Linked DNA regions of Homo sapiens: region 2 is linked to region 1. Evidence: promoter capture Hi-C in 16 types of primary human blood cells and fetal thymus (Javierre and others, 2016). All regions are on one chromosome and are shown on one strand. Each heading gives the region's core, a stretch centred on a gene start or on the middle of the fragment in contact. The rest is flanking DNA. Distances are from core to core; before and after follow the strand shown.

Region 1 (6,726 bases), core at 4,227-6,726:
TATTATCAGCTATGGTGCCGAGGCTGGTCTTGAATTCCTGGCCTCAAGCGATCCTCCTGCGCTGGCCTCCCAAGGTGCGGGGATTACAGGGATCTTGTTTCTTGAATGTAGTAACATTATCACCAGTTTGCCTCTTAAAACAGAATGAACCAGGACACTTTTGTCCCTAAATTTGGGGGCTCCTTATTGTTTTTAAACTGAAGCCCAACCTCCTCGGCACTATGTTCCAGAGTTCAACTCACCTGTCCATCTTCACCCACTGTCGAAAGTCCTCCTCCCCTACATATACCTGAGACTCCATCTTGCTTACCATTCCCCAGATGTGCCATGTGTTTATCCAGCAACTATTGGGCACCTCCTATGTGCCAGGCACCAGGCTAAACACTGGGCATGGAATAAGATCCCAACTCTACCCTCAAGGCATTCAGCAGACTGTGGAGACCGTTCCGTAAACAAGTCAAGATAATACAATGTGACAGGTGCTATAATAGATATAAGCAAGGTGTGCTGGGGGCAGAGGAGGAGGAGGGAGTGCCTATTGGCATGGGGGAGGGGTGGAGGGAGGGGAGGGGTATTAGGGAGGGCTTCCCTCAGGTGCTGAGTTTGATTTGTGGAGGAAAAAGGGTTATCTCTGCAGAGGCACAAGAGCAGTTCATGGGGGCTGGGTGACAGGAAGGTGGTGAACTCACAGTGAAAGCTGGCAGGTAGGAACAGGCTGTTTTGTGGACATGATTTCAGTGGGAGTGAGATCAGATGAGGACAAGGCGGAGGACAGATTTGAGGGCAAGGAGGGAGAGTTGGCAATTATCCAGGCAAGGAAGGGGATGATCGGGATGAAGGCTGTGGTAAGAGAATGTGGAAGAAGAGACAAATGCGAAAAGACAAGGCAGAGGAGATATTATCACTCTTAAGATCACAGAGTTTGGACGAAGGTAATTCCACCAGCAGCATGAAAAGGGAGTGAGGAGCAAGCTACTTGGGAGATGACCTTATTTTCAGAAACAGTGAATTTGGGATCTGGTGAGTCCCAAGGAGCATCGATGGGGAGCTCTCCAGTAGCCAGAGGGAAGCTTGGAACTGGGAAGGGAGGCAAGGGCTGAAGATACAGATTTCAAAAATATCTTAGAGAAAAAAACATGCTTATCCTTGGGCCCAGCAATTCTATTTGTAGGAATTTTTCCTAAGGATATGTGTAAATTTTTATTCATTTATTTATTTTTGAGACAGCATTCTCTCTATGTTGCCTAGGCTGGCCTCGAACTCCTGGGCTCAAGAGATCATCTCACCTCAGCCTCCTGAGTAGCTGAGATTACCAATGTGAGCCACTGTGCCCAGCTTGTGTGAAAATTTATCTACAGAAATGCTCACTGTTTATAATAGTAAAGGAGGGGAAACTTTTATTTATAAACTGCTATGACAGTGAAAAATGCCTAACAGTAGGGGATTGGTTAAATAAAGTATACTATACCCATGCAATTTGGACAGTAAAATGGATATTGTAGATGGATGCTTATTGACATGAAAAAAAATCCACAATATTTTGCTAAGTAGAAAATGGTAGACTCTAAAACTAATTGTAGAGTAAAAGATCCAGTTATTGTTTAAGAAAAAAATTAACATATTAATACTGGTTTTTTTTTTTTGAGATGGAGTCTTGCTCTTTCACCCAGGCTGGAGTGCAATGGTGCAGTCTCGGCTCACTGCAACCTCCACCTCCCGGGTTCAAGTGATTCTCCTGCCTCAGCCTCCCGAGTAGCTGGGATTACAGGTGCCCATGACCACGCCTGCCTAATTTTTGTATTTTTAGTAGAGATGGGGTTTCACCATGTTGGCCAGGCTGGTCTCGAACTCCTGATCTCATGATCCGCCCTCCTCAGCCTCCCAAAGTACTGGGATTATAGGCGTGAGCCACCGCGCCCGGCCAATACTGGTTCTTTGGTGATATGATTATGAGTGTGTTTTCTTTCTTTTTAATTTTTTTCCCACATCAATCATACATGGCTTTTGTTGTAAGACAATTATTTTTAAAAATTGAATAAAATTAAGAGGAATGACTTAGGGATAGCTCTGGGAATGAGAAGATGAGAGGATCAAGGATGGAACCTTGATCAATAGCCTTGATACCTCTGGCCCTGTGGCCCCTGTCCGTGCAGTTGACTATGTCTTGAGGGTGCCACCCATGTCATATCTGCTACATTGCTGCATGGTAGAATACAACGAGCAGACTGCTACAACTATGAGCTTTGGGCAAACTCATATATATATATATATATATATATAAATAATTTTATTTTATTTTTTTTGAGACAGAGTATTGCTGTGTTGCCAGGCTGGAGTGCAGTGGTGCAACCTTGGCTCACTGCAACTTCCACCTTCTGGGTTCAAGCAATTCTCCTGCCTCAGCCTCCCAAGTAGCTGGGACTACAGGCACACACCACCACGCCTAGCTAATTTTTGTATTTTTAGTAGAGACAGGGTTTCACCACGTTGGCCAGGATGGTTTCGATCTCTTGACCTCGTGATCCGCCTGCCTTGGCCTCCCAAAGTGCTAGGATTAGAGTCGTGAGCCACCATGCCCGGCCTTTTTATTTTTTATTTTTTTTTTGAGACAGAGTCTCATTCTGTCAACCAGGCTGGAGTGCAATGGCATGATCTCGGCTCACTGCAACCTCCACCTCCCGGATTCAAGTGATTCTCCTGCCTCAGCCTCCAGAGTAGGATTACAGGCTCACACCGCCACGCCCGGCTAATTTTTGTATTTTTAGTAGAGACGGGTTTCACCATGTTGGCCAGGCTGGTCATGAGCGCCAGACCTCAGATGATCTGCCTGCCTCAGCCTCCCAAAGTGCTGGGGTTACAGGCATGAGCCACCATGCCTGGCTGGACAAACTTTTTGATTCCCTAAGTCTGTTTTCTCATCTTTATAGTGGGGATAACCTTCCTCAGAATAGTTATCTGACAATAAAATGTTTACAGACATACAACAGTTGCTTAGTAAATATTAATTAGTCCATCCTCCCTTTCTTAGACATCCTTCCCTGCTAGACCCAGGTTTGACTTCCAGGCCCTTGTTTGGCCCTCACAGTGGGAAGTGACACCCCCTCTCTCTGAATGCCCGAGGTGCTGTTTGCACTTCTATTGAACCCAGAACTTTGCTCTGACCTAGAGATAGTGGCTAGCTCTTCTCCGTCACTGACTTGTTCGACTTGTTCCCGGTCTAGAGTTTGGTCATCTCTCTATCCTGGTAGCAACTAGCACAATGCTTTGTACATTGAGGGTTCTCTAGAATTTTTATTGACTAAATTCATGTTTTTTTTTACAACTTGGCTAATAGTGGAATACTCAAAGGCTGGATTACCCAAGGGTTAGTTTATTCTGACCTCTTGGAATTTTTCTCCTCCCAATTTGTAACTCTGGCAAGGTTTATCTTCCAGTCTGCAGAGATGACCAGCAGAGAGAGACAAAGAAGGAAGCTCACTTAGACCTCTAGGCTCCCTGTCAGAAGCTCTGGGGAGAGAGTTGGAGGATGAAGAAGGGGAAAGTAAAAGCTGTTTACCCCCAGGCTGGGTAGGAGTGTGGTCTCCCACCTCTCCAGGGTTTAGACTGTCAGAACTCCAGCAGGACAGCTTGGGGGCAAAGGGAATTGGGTAGACACATCATTCTACAGGCCTACGTCCTTTTTGCCTAGCAGTCGAATCCTTCTCTCCATTCCTGCCTCTTGTGGCTGGTGCTGTGTATCTAGCCATTTTCCCCTTCCCCTGCTTCCCCCCAAGTGGGCACGCCAGCTTGCTCAGGTGCCCATCCTTCCTGCTAACACCTTGTTAGGTTAGGGAGGCAGTCTGGCGCTGACGAAGGACCTTTGGGTGCCAAGTTAGTAGACCTGTGTGACCTATAGCAAGTTGAATAAGCTCCCAGAGCCTCAGTTTCTGCATCTATAAGCTGGGAATAGCTACACGGTCTCTGTCCTCTGTCTCATCCTAGGATTACTGACGGGAACCAAGTGAGATTTATGAGACTTTACGAACAGGCAAAGAGCGCTTTATAAAAGCCAGGTGTTTCCAGTGTTCACTGTGGGGCTTTCTCCTGGTAACTACCCACCAAAGCCTCCCTGTCCGCCCCGCCCCGGCTGCATCGGCCTCACCCACTGCATCACCATCTTTTCCATCACTGTCTTCCTGCGTCTCAGAAGTCCTGTTTCTGCATCTCCCCTGTCCATTTCCGGGTCTGGCTCTCCGGCCCCTGAGACCCCTCCAGGGACTCTGTTCTCCTTCTCCTTGAGGCACTCGCTGCCCAGGCGCCCCCCACCCGGTGCGCCCTCCTTTGGCACAGCCGCCGGGCCAGAGAATCGCCCAATAAGAGCGCCGGACTGTAGTCTGACAGCTCCGGAAGCGGCCAATCGAGCCGGGCCAGGGAAGGGGGGCGCAGCGCCGGGGCTGAAGTTGGGTTAAATGGGGGGAGGGGGATTAAAGGGGGATACAAAAGAGGGGAGCTAGGACTGGGGGCGCTGGAGCCCTGGCCGGGGGCGGGGGAAGACCGCGCTCCACCCAGGTCTGGTGACGGGACCGCAGGCTGGATGCGGCTCCTAGTCCCAGGGAGGGAGGGGCGCAGCGAGAATTTTAGGTGAGGAAGGGGAACTGGGGTGCCCGCGGCCAGGCCTGAGGATGCCCGCGGGGCGCCGAGGCTGGGGCCATGGCCAGGCCGGGGGCGGAGGCGGCCTCGCGCGGCTGTGAGCCGAGGCCCGGGCGGCGCGGGGGGCGGGGAGGCAGCGGGAGGAGGGGATGCGGAGGGCTCTCCGGCGGCGGCGAGCGGGCGAGAAGGGAGGAGCGGCGCGAGCGGCCGGAGCGGCGCAGGGCCCGAAGCGTGCATGGCGCGCCCTGAGCCGGGCTCCCGCGGGCCCCCCCGGAGCGCCTCTCGGGCGCCGCGGCTCTCAGGCGGGCCCCTCTGGGCCGGCTGCTTCTGAGCCCCGGCGCTGGATCTCTGGATGCCTTACTCCCCGGGAGAAGCCTGCCTGCGTCGGGGCAGAACCGCGGCAGCGCTGCGCCGGATTCCGTCCTCCGCCTAGTCGTTCCGCGCCGGCCGCGGTGGGCCCGCAGCCGGCGACGAGGAGCTTGGGGCTTGCGAAGCGGGCGCGACAGCTCTCCGGGCCGGCAGGTCCCGGCCGGCCCCGCTCCGTTTGCGGGAAAGGGAGAGGCGAGAGGGGAAGGGCCGCACCGCAGGAGCCGGTCCCTGACCCGGACCCCGCCCCCTGCGCGGACGCGCCGAAGGCTCGGCTCGGCTTTCGCCGGGGCCACGCATCCACTCTCGCCGCGAGAGGTGGGGGATGCGGGCAACGGCCCCCCCGGGCTCCAGGACCCTCCCCCCCGGGGCTCCGGAGCTGTTGCTCCGCCCGTCGCCCCCTCCCCCGTCCTCTCCACCTCCCATCCCACCTCCCCACCCCTCGTAAGAAAATAATGCTGGCTGGCGCCCGCACCTCCCAGTCGCTCCCAGTCCGCTGCGAGGAAAGCGCACCCGCAGTGTCTCTTCGCCGGGACCCCCGCCGAGCCGCCCTCGCCGCCGCCGAGCCCCGAGAGCAGCTGGGCTCCGCTTAGGCGGAATCAGCGAGCGCCGCGCCCGGGCACTGCCGGCCCGAGGAGGCACCGCCCGCAAGGACACCACTCCGTCCCGTCTCGTCCGCAACTCCGGCCCTCGTCGAGCTCGACGCGAGCCAGGATCCCGGACGTCTCTCCGCGTGCGGCGCAGCAGCAGCCAGACCAGTCCCTGCGACCCCACCTCGGAGGCAACTCCATTTCGGACCTGGGACTTCTGACGCGGATCCTCAGCTACTTCTCACCTCGGGGCTGTGCCCTCCTCCTCCGCTCAGGACGGGGGTGCCAAGATGCCCCGCTGCAGCGCAGGGCCCCGGGCCGCCCCCGACGTGTGACCCTAGCCTGGTCCCCCTGCTCGGCCGTCCGCCCTCCCCTTGGAGACCCCCGGCCCGGCTTCCGGGGGAGGAGGAAGGAGACGACGAGGCCGAGGGGGGGATGTCCGGCTCCAAAAGCGTGAGCCCCCCGGGCTACGCGGCGCAGAAGACTGCGGCGCCGGCGCCCCGGGGAGGCCCCGAACACCGCTCTGCGTGGGGCGAGGCCGATTCCCGCGCGAATGGCTACCCCCATGCCCCCGGGGGCTCTGCCCGCGGCTCCACCAAGAAACCCGGGGGGGCGGTGACCCCGCAGCAGCAGCAGCGCCTGGCCAGCCGCTGGCGCAGCGACGACGACGACGATCCTCCGCTGAGCGGTGACGACCCCCTGGCCGGGGGCTTCGGCTTCAGCTTCCGCTCCAAGTCCGCCTGGCAGGAGCGCGGCGGCGACGACTGCGGTCGCGGCAGCCGCCGGCAGCGGCGGGGCGCGGCCAGCGGGGGCAGCACCCGGGCGCCCCCTGCGGGCGGCGGCGGCGGCTCGGCGGCGGCGGCTGCCTCGGCGGGCGGGACGGAGGTGCGCCCTCGCTCGGTGGAGGTGGGTCTGGAGGAGCGGCGGGGCAAGGGGCGCGCGGCCGACGAGCTGGAGGCCGGCGCCGTCGAGGGCGGCGAGGGGTCCGGGGATGGCGGCAGCTCGGCGGACTCGGGCTCGGGCGCGGGGCCCGGCGCGGTGCTGTCCCTGGGCGCCTGCTGCCTGGCGTTGCTGCAGATATTCCGCTCCAAGAAGTTCCCGTCGGACAAACTGGAGCGGCTGTACCAGCGCTACTTCTTCC
Region 2 (6,726 bases), core at 1,441-3,940, 1.9 Mb after region 1:
GAACTCCTGACCTCAAGCGATCCACCTGCCTCAGCCTCCCACACTGCTGGGATTACAGACATGAGCCACCGCGCCCGGCCAGATTATGCTGTTAAAGAGATAGACTGTGATGACTCCTTTGTCAACAGTCATAACAATAGTTTCAAAAATCTTCAGAGGCTTGAAGCAGACTCTCAAATCCATTTGTAAGTGAACACGTATAATATTTTCGTTATATATCAATAAATATATAAAAACCTCCTTTTTTTAGGTCTTACTTTTGAGGAGAGGGATATCATTGAAGGAGCCTTTCGTCAAGGTCTCATTCGGGTCTTGGCGGCAACTTCTACTCTTTCTTCTGGGGTGAATTTACCTGCACGTCGTGTGATTATTCGAACCCCTATTTTTGGTGGTCGACCTCTAGATATTCTTACTTATAAGCAGATGGTTGGCCGTGCTGGCAGGAAAGGAGTGGACACAGTAGGTAAGTGAGTTTGAATTTAATTGTAGCAGCATTGCTGAAGGACAGTGTCTACTTGAAATTTGACTAGTGTCTGGCAACCTGTTTCTCATCATGCTGTATTTCTTTATTATCCAATGCACTAGTGTCATCATTTTGGATTCACTTAATATTTATAGTGAGTATGAGTTATAATTTTCTTTTTTTTTTTTTTTTTTTGAGACGGAGTCTCGCTCTGTCGCCCAGGCTGCAGTGCAGTGGCGCGATCTTGGCCCACTGCAAGCTCTGCCTTCCGGGTTCATGCCATTCTCCTGCCTCAGCCTCCCAAGTAGCTGGGACTACAGGCGCCTGCCACCATGCCCGGCTAATTTTTTTGTATTTTTAGTAGAGACGGGGTCTCACCATGTTAGCCAGGATGGTCTCGATCTCCTGGCCTCGTGATCCGCCTGCCTCGGCCTCCCAAAGTGCTGGGATTACAGGCTTGAGCCACCGCGCCTGGCATAATTTTCATATATATATATATATATATATATATCATCAACTGTTGATTTTCTACAAATGTTGAATTAAGTTTTTCTTTCGTATTGTATACAATAAAATGATTTAGTATTATGTAAATCAAGATGACTTCTTATTACTTAGCTGGAAGATGATTTTTAATTTCTAGGTGTAGTCTACTCTTTAGCACTAATTAATTTTCACAGATGTTAATTCAACTTAGGTGACTGGTCTCAGAAATCAGACAAGGATGCTGGGATGCACCCTCACACTTTGGGAATAGGAACTTGACATCCCATCTTTTTTCTCGAAATTGGTGCTGGCTCTGAAAAAACACCTTTTCATTTTTTTTTACCTTGTATCAGCAAGTTATGATTGTTTTTACCAGCAATCCAAACAAAAGTTTTGTCTTAAGCAGTAAGGAAGAGGTTTGTTTGAATTAAATGTCAAAACGGCAGCAAATTTTATTTCTAACGTGCTGTATCATTATATGTAACTAAATCATTATCAGCCATCTAACATTGAAGAACCTTGGGAGGAACATTCCCTGCCACTTTCTACTCTAGGACATAATTGTCATCTTTCTACTGTAGGACATAATTGACTCCAGTATTTTATTAGATATGTCAAAAAAAAACAAAACAGGCAAACAGTTCTGTGGCTACTGAAGAGAAATTAGGAAATCCAGGAGAATAAGGAAAGTGGATGGGAAATGGATATTCTGGGCAGAGGAAGCTGGGTAGTACACTGAGGAAGTAACTTTTAGAATAAACTGACTTGTCACATGAAGTCCCCAAATATGTCAGTTCTCATTATTCATGGATTCCATATTTGAATTTTCCACCTTAACAGAATTTATTCAGAATCCCGAAATAATACCTCTGGGGCTTTTGTGGACATATGCAGATCTGCGAAAAATTTGAATCTTTCCAAGCACACTTTCCCTGCTGTGGTTGAACAAGCCAAAGCTCTGCGTTCTTGTTTCAGCTCTTATACTGTGAACAAGCTTCTTTTTAATGGGCTAGTTAGTGCCATATTTTTCACATTTTTGTGCTTTTAGTTGGTGATTTTGCTGTTTAACATGACCCCCAAGCAAAGTACTGAAATGCTATCTAATGTTCCCTAGTGCCTTAAGGCTGTGATGTGCCTTATGGAGAAAATATGTGATAAGTTTTCTTTAGGCATGAATTATAATGCTGTTGGCTGGAGCTCAATGTAAACAACTATATACATTAAATAAGATGTCTTTAAACAGAAACATGCATAAAACAAGGTTTTGTATTGATGAAGTGATGAAAATGTTTTTACTAGAGGCTTGCAGGAACCTAATCATCTGTTTTCCTTGGCAGCAAGGGTTCAGTATTCTGTGTTCGTGGCAGCTTTATAGAACATGACTACCACAAATACCAAAAATTGACCGTAATTTATTGGTATCTGGATTAGTTAGAATATAAATTCACTGCTGTAACAAAAACCAATACAATAAGTGTTTAACAAGATAGATGTTAATTTCTTTCTCATATAACAGTAAAATTCTATTCTAGGCCTTATATGATGTAATTGTAATTTAGGCCTTATATGATGGCTGTAGTGTGTCGGGGACCTAGTCTTCTATTTTGTTTTAACATTTTCAGCAATGTAGTTTCTATCCTCGGTATATGATGGCCAGTCCAGTCTCTGTCATCACATCTGCATTTCAGCCATCAGGAAGGGAAGATGAGGAAGCAAAGAGCATGCCCTGCCCTTTAAGGCCGCTGCTCAGAAGTTGCACATAGTATTTCTCTTCACATACAATGGGCCAGAACTTTCACATGATTACATTCCCCAACTATAAGAGAGGCTGGGAAATATAATCTTTAGCTTGGGTGGCCACGTGCTCCACTAATACTTAAGAAGATGTGCATGGCTATTGGAACAGCTTTCAGTCTCAGCACCAGTAATAAATGACCCATTTACAATCCCTGAAGGGCATTGGTCAGCCTTTCTTTTAAGCCCTGAAAATTTTGATGATTTAAAAAAAAAAAACAAAACTTCCAATTTGTTGGATTTTTCCTACAGCTGACATCAGAGACGTTTATCCTGTTTCTCTCTTACTTTACCTACAGAATATGCAGATTGCATGTATATGCTTAAAAAGAGTTGAGGGAAGAGAGTGAGATTCTTCCTTCCCATTCCTATTTGCCTACCTCTGTCCATCCCCAATTTTCAGTGGACTCACACCTCTGGGGAATGGAGTATAAGTCCATTTTACATAGATAATTGTCTCTCGGGACAGAGGGTCTTTTAGTTAATGTAGAAGATAAGGAGAAATAAGACAAGAAATAAGCTGAGATCTTATTTGCCTTGTTATGTTCTTAGCTTATATTTATTATGGGAAAGAACAATTGGAAGGTTAGTGCCCTGGGCTAATTATCAAGCCTTAAATCAGACAACTCTCAAACAGAACTAAAATATACTGTAATAAGTTCATTTCTGAGGTCTTAAAGACTTCCAAGCTTTTGATCTTGCATATCATTGTATTTCAGGATGTCATATGACTTGCTCATAACTTCAAGCTAATGAAGAATGTAGGAATATAGTGGTTTATATTCACTATGGAGACTTAAATACTTGGTCATGCTTTTTGTATCGTGTAGCATCATTGGAAATTCTGTGCATTTTATATTCCTGGACAGCACATGGTGTTTTATTTAGATGACACTTCAGTCTTTCCATAGACTACTTAGAAGCTTCTAGTATAGGATGATGGTGCTTGGTGCCAAAATAGCGATTTGTAAGTTCAGCAGTCAGTAATAAATTATTTGATTCTAAATAATTTCAACTTCCCTCTTGTGATGTGGATGAGTCCTCCCTAGACAGGTGGTTGCAGGAACCTGTACATATATACTGATGTTCATTTGGACATTTTATAAACCTTGCCCATTCAGGAAAAGGGCAGTTCATTTTGTTGAAGAATCAAAGCCCCGAAAGACCTTTAAACAGCCCAAAGTGGCTTGTTTATCTTGCTGCTAATGCTAGTTGATTCATTTTCTAGGTAATTTATATGTGTGTGTTTTCTTTCTTAAGCTGGGCTGTTTTGTAGCCATTGCAAGAGTCAGGTGTTATATTCATGTGATTTTTAAAAATTGGATATTGACAAATTATAATTGTATATATTTTTGAGGCACAGAGTGATGCTATCTGTATACAATGCAAAATGATGGAATTAAGCCAGTTAACATATCACCCCCAAATACTTATCATTTATTCTTCCTGTCTAACTGAAACATTGTACTCTTTGACCATCTTCTCATCCCTCCAACTCCCTAATCTCTCTCTCTTCTGCTTGATTGAGCCTGCTGCTAAAGCTTTGATTGCATTTTTCAGTTCACTCATTGTACTCTTCATCTCTAAGATTTCTCTTTCTTTTTTATTGTTTCTATTTCTTTGTCAAACTTCTTGTTTTGTTTGTATATTGTTTTCCAAATTTTATTTAATTTTTTATCCATATATCCTTGTAGTTCATTGGACTTTTTTAGGATAATTATTCTGGATTCTTTCTCATTTCACAGATCTTCATTTCTTTAGGGTTCATTGTTGGAGCTTTGTTAGTTTCTTTTGAAGGTATCTTGGCTTCCTGGTTCTTTGTAATCTGTGTTCTTGTGTTGGTATCTGCACATTTGAGGAGACAGCTACCTCTTTGGCTTTTATAGGTGTTCTTTGGCAGGGATAGAACTTCACTTGTCTAGCCTTTGATTCTGAATAGGCCAACTGGCAGCAGCCCTGAGCAGGCAAAGCTTGCTTTGGATTCTGTAGATAGTTGGGCTGCTGCCTTTGCTCTGAGTTTGGGTGGGACTGCTGGCTGGGCTCTGCTATCAGGTGAACCCACAAGCTGAGCTCTGCAGTCAGGCAGAGTTGCTGGTTTGAAACTGCAATCGCCTCTTGGCTGGGCCCCAGAGTGTATTCCTTGGCCAGATGGTACCCCTATTTGAGATCTGTACTTGGACAGTGTTGCAGGCTGGGCCTCGAGGTTAGGTGGAGTTGCTATTCTGGACCAGTGGGCCAGCTGCTATGCTCAGTGGAAATGCATGATTGAGCATGGTGGCTCATGACTGTAATCCCAGTGACTTGGGAGGCTGAGATGGAAGGATCGCTTGAGCCCAGGAGTTTCAGGCTTCAGTGAGTTATGATCATGCCACTGCACTCCTATGTGAGTGACAGAGATCCCACCTCTAAAAATAAAATAAAAAAAATGCACATCTGAGGTTTGCCTCCCTGCCTAGGTGGGGACTTGGAGTGGGCTTTGAGACTGAACTGAGGGCTGTTTAAACTTCCACCCTTGGCAGAACTAGTCCCTGCACTTTGCAAAAATACAGTATGATAGGCATCTTCCACCTGGGGCAGGTCCTTGAGGCTGAGCTTGAGCACTGTTTAAAATCCCAGGTTTGGCAGAACTAGCCCCTGCTTCTTTCCAGAATGCACTGTGATGGTCATCTCCTTTCCTGGGCAGGGTCCTCATGAGCTTTGACGCTGGGCCTGGAGGCTGGCCATCTAAAGATTCAAGCCAGGTAGAATTTCCTACCACTTCTAGAAGTGATCAGTTTGGCTTTGTCCTGGGCTACACTGTTTAGCTGTTAGCTGGTACCTCTGATTGGGCACCACCACTGGCAGGTACACAGAGCTACCACCAAGATCTGCATGCTGGTTGCCGTGAGCTCTACCTCCTTGCTTTGTTTCTGCCTGACCCCAGGTGATCTAGCCATGCTGTTACCCAGCATGTTCTCTGTGAGGCGAGACTGGAGTTGGCTTCTTGGGAAGCCTCTTGGAATGCTAGGGAAGCTCTGTGTTCTCTGGTTTTCTTTTCCCACTGTAGAAGCCATGAGCCCTGGGGATTCCTTTCTGTGTGATACTGTGCTGACTTAGGGGAGTGGAAGGGGTGATGAGGTCAAAGTGAGATAGTTTATCTTACTATATCTTGCAATTTTTATGTAGTTTTGTGGTCTATGCATAAGTTTCAGACTTATTCCCAAGTTTTGGGTTTTTTTTTTTTTTTTTTGGTTATTGTTGTTGTTGTTGTTTTTTTTTTTAATACACGGAATTTTACTCTTGTTGCCCAGGCTGTAGTGCGATGGCGCAATCTTGGTTCACTGCAACCTCCACCTCCTGGGCTCAAGCGATTCTCTTGCCTCAGCCTCCCAAGTAGCTGGAATTATAGGAATGTGCCATCATGCCTGGCTAATTTTGTATTTTTAGTAGAGATGGGGTTTCACCATGTTGGTTAGGCTAGTCTTGAACTCCTGACCTCAGGTGATCCGTCCACCTTGGCCTCCCACAGTGCTGGAATTACAGGCATGAGCCACCATGCCTGGCCTCTTTTTTTTTTTTTTTTTTTTTTGAGATGGAGTTTCACTCTTGTTGCCCAGGCTGGAGTGCAGTGGCACAATCTCGGCTCACTGCAACCTCCACCTCCAGGGCTCAAGCGATTCTCCTGCCTCAGCCTCCCAAGTAGCTGAGATTACAGGAATGTGCCATCATGCCTGGCTAATTTTGTATTTCTAGTAGAGACGGGGTTTCACCATGTTGGTTAGGCTGGTCTCGAACTCCTGACCTAAGTGAGCCACACTCCTTGGCCTCCCAAAATGCTGGGATTACAGGCATAAGCCACTGGGCCTGGCAGTTTTGGGGTTTTCACAAAGGTGTTCTTGTCTGCAGATAGAAGCTAGTTGAAGCTTCTGGGGAGGGGGGTAGTAAAGCCTCCTAAACCACCATCTTGCTGACATCTTGTTTTCCTTTTTTTTTTTTTTTTTTTT

What was found. Contacts are between HindIII fragments. The CHiCAGO score rates a contact against its expected background, and 5 or more counts as called.
Region 2: a contact is called between a fragment that was not itself captured here and the fragment with the promoter of ADCY5 in region 1, in 1 of 17 cell types (monocytes). The highest score is 5.7, in monocytes.

Annotation. Positions count from the first base shown.
Region 1 is chr3:123,447,840-123,454,565 of GRCh38, reverse strand. It overlaps ADCY5 (adenylate cyclase 5), which reads left to right and starts at 5,476. Exons shown (of 21, transcript NM_183357.3): 1 at 5,476-6,726. The coding sequence starts at 6,021. RefSeq lists an enhancer at 6,415-6,726. The HindIII fragment of the contact is 9,434 bases long and covers 1,073-6,726 here.
Region 2 is chr3:121,513,608-121,520,333 of GRCh38, reverse strand. POLQ (DNA polymerase theta) reads left to right here. Exons shown (of 30, transcript NM_199420.4): 9 at 251-463. Among named protein-coding and RNA genes, the nearest start is that of POLQ, 29 kb to the left of the region's middle. The HindIII fragment of the contact is 1,489 bases long and covers 1,946-3,434 here.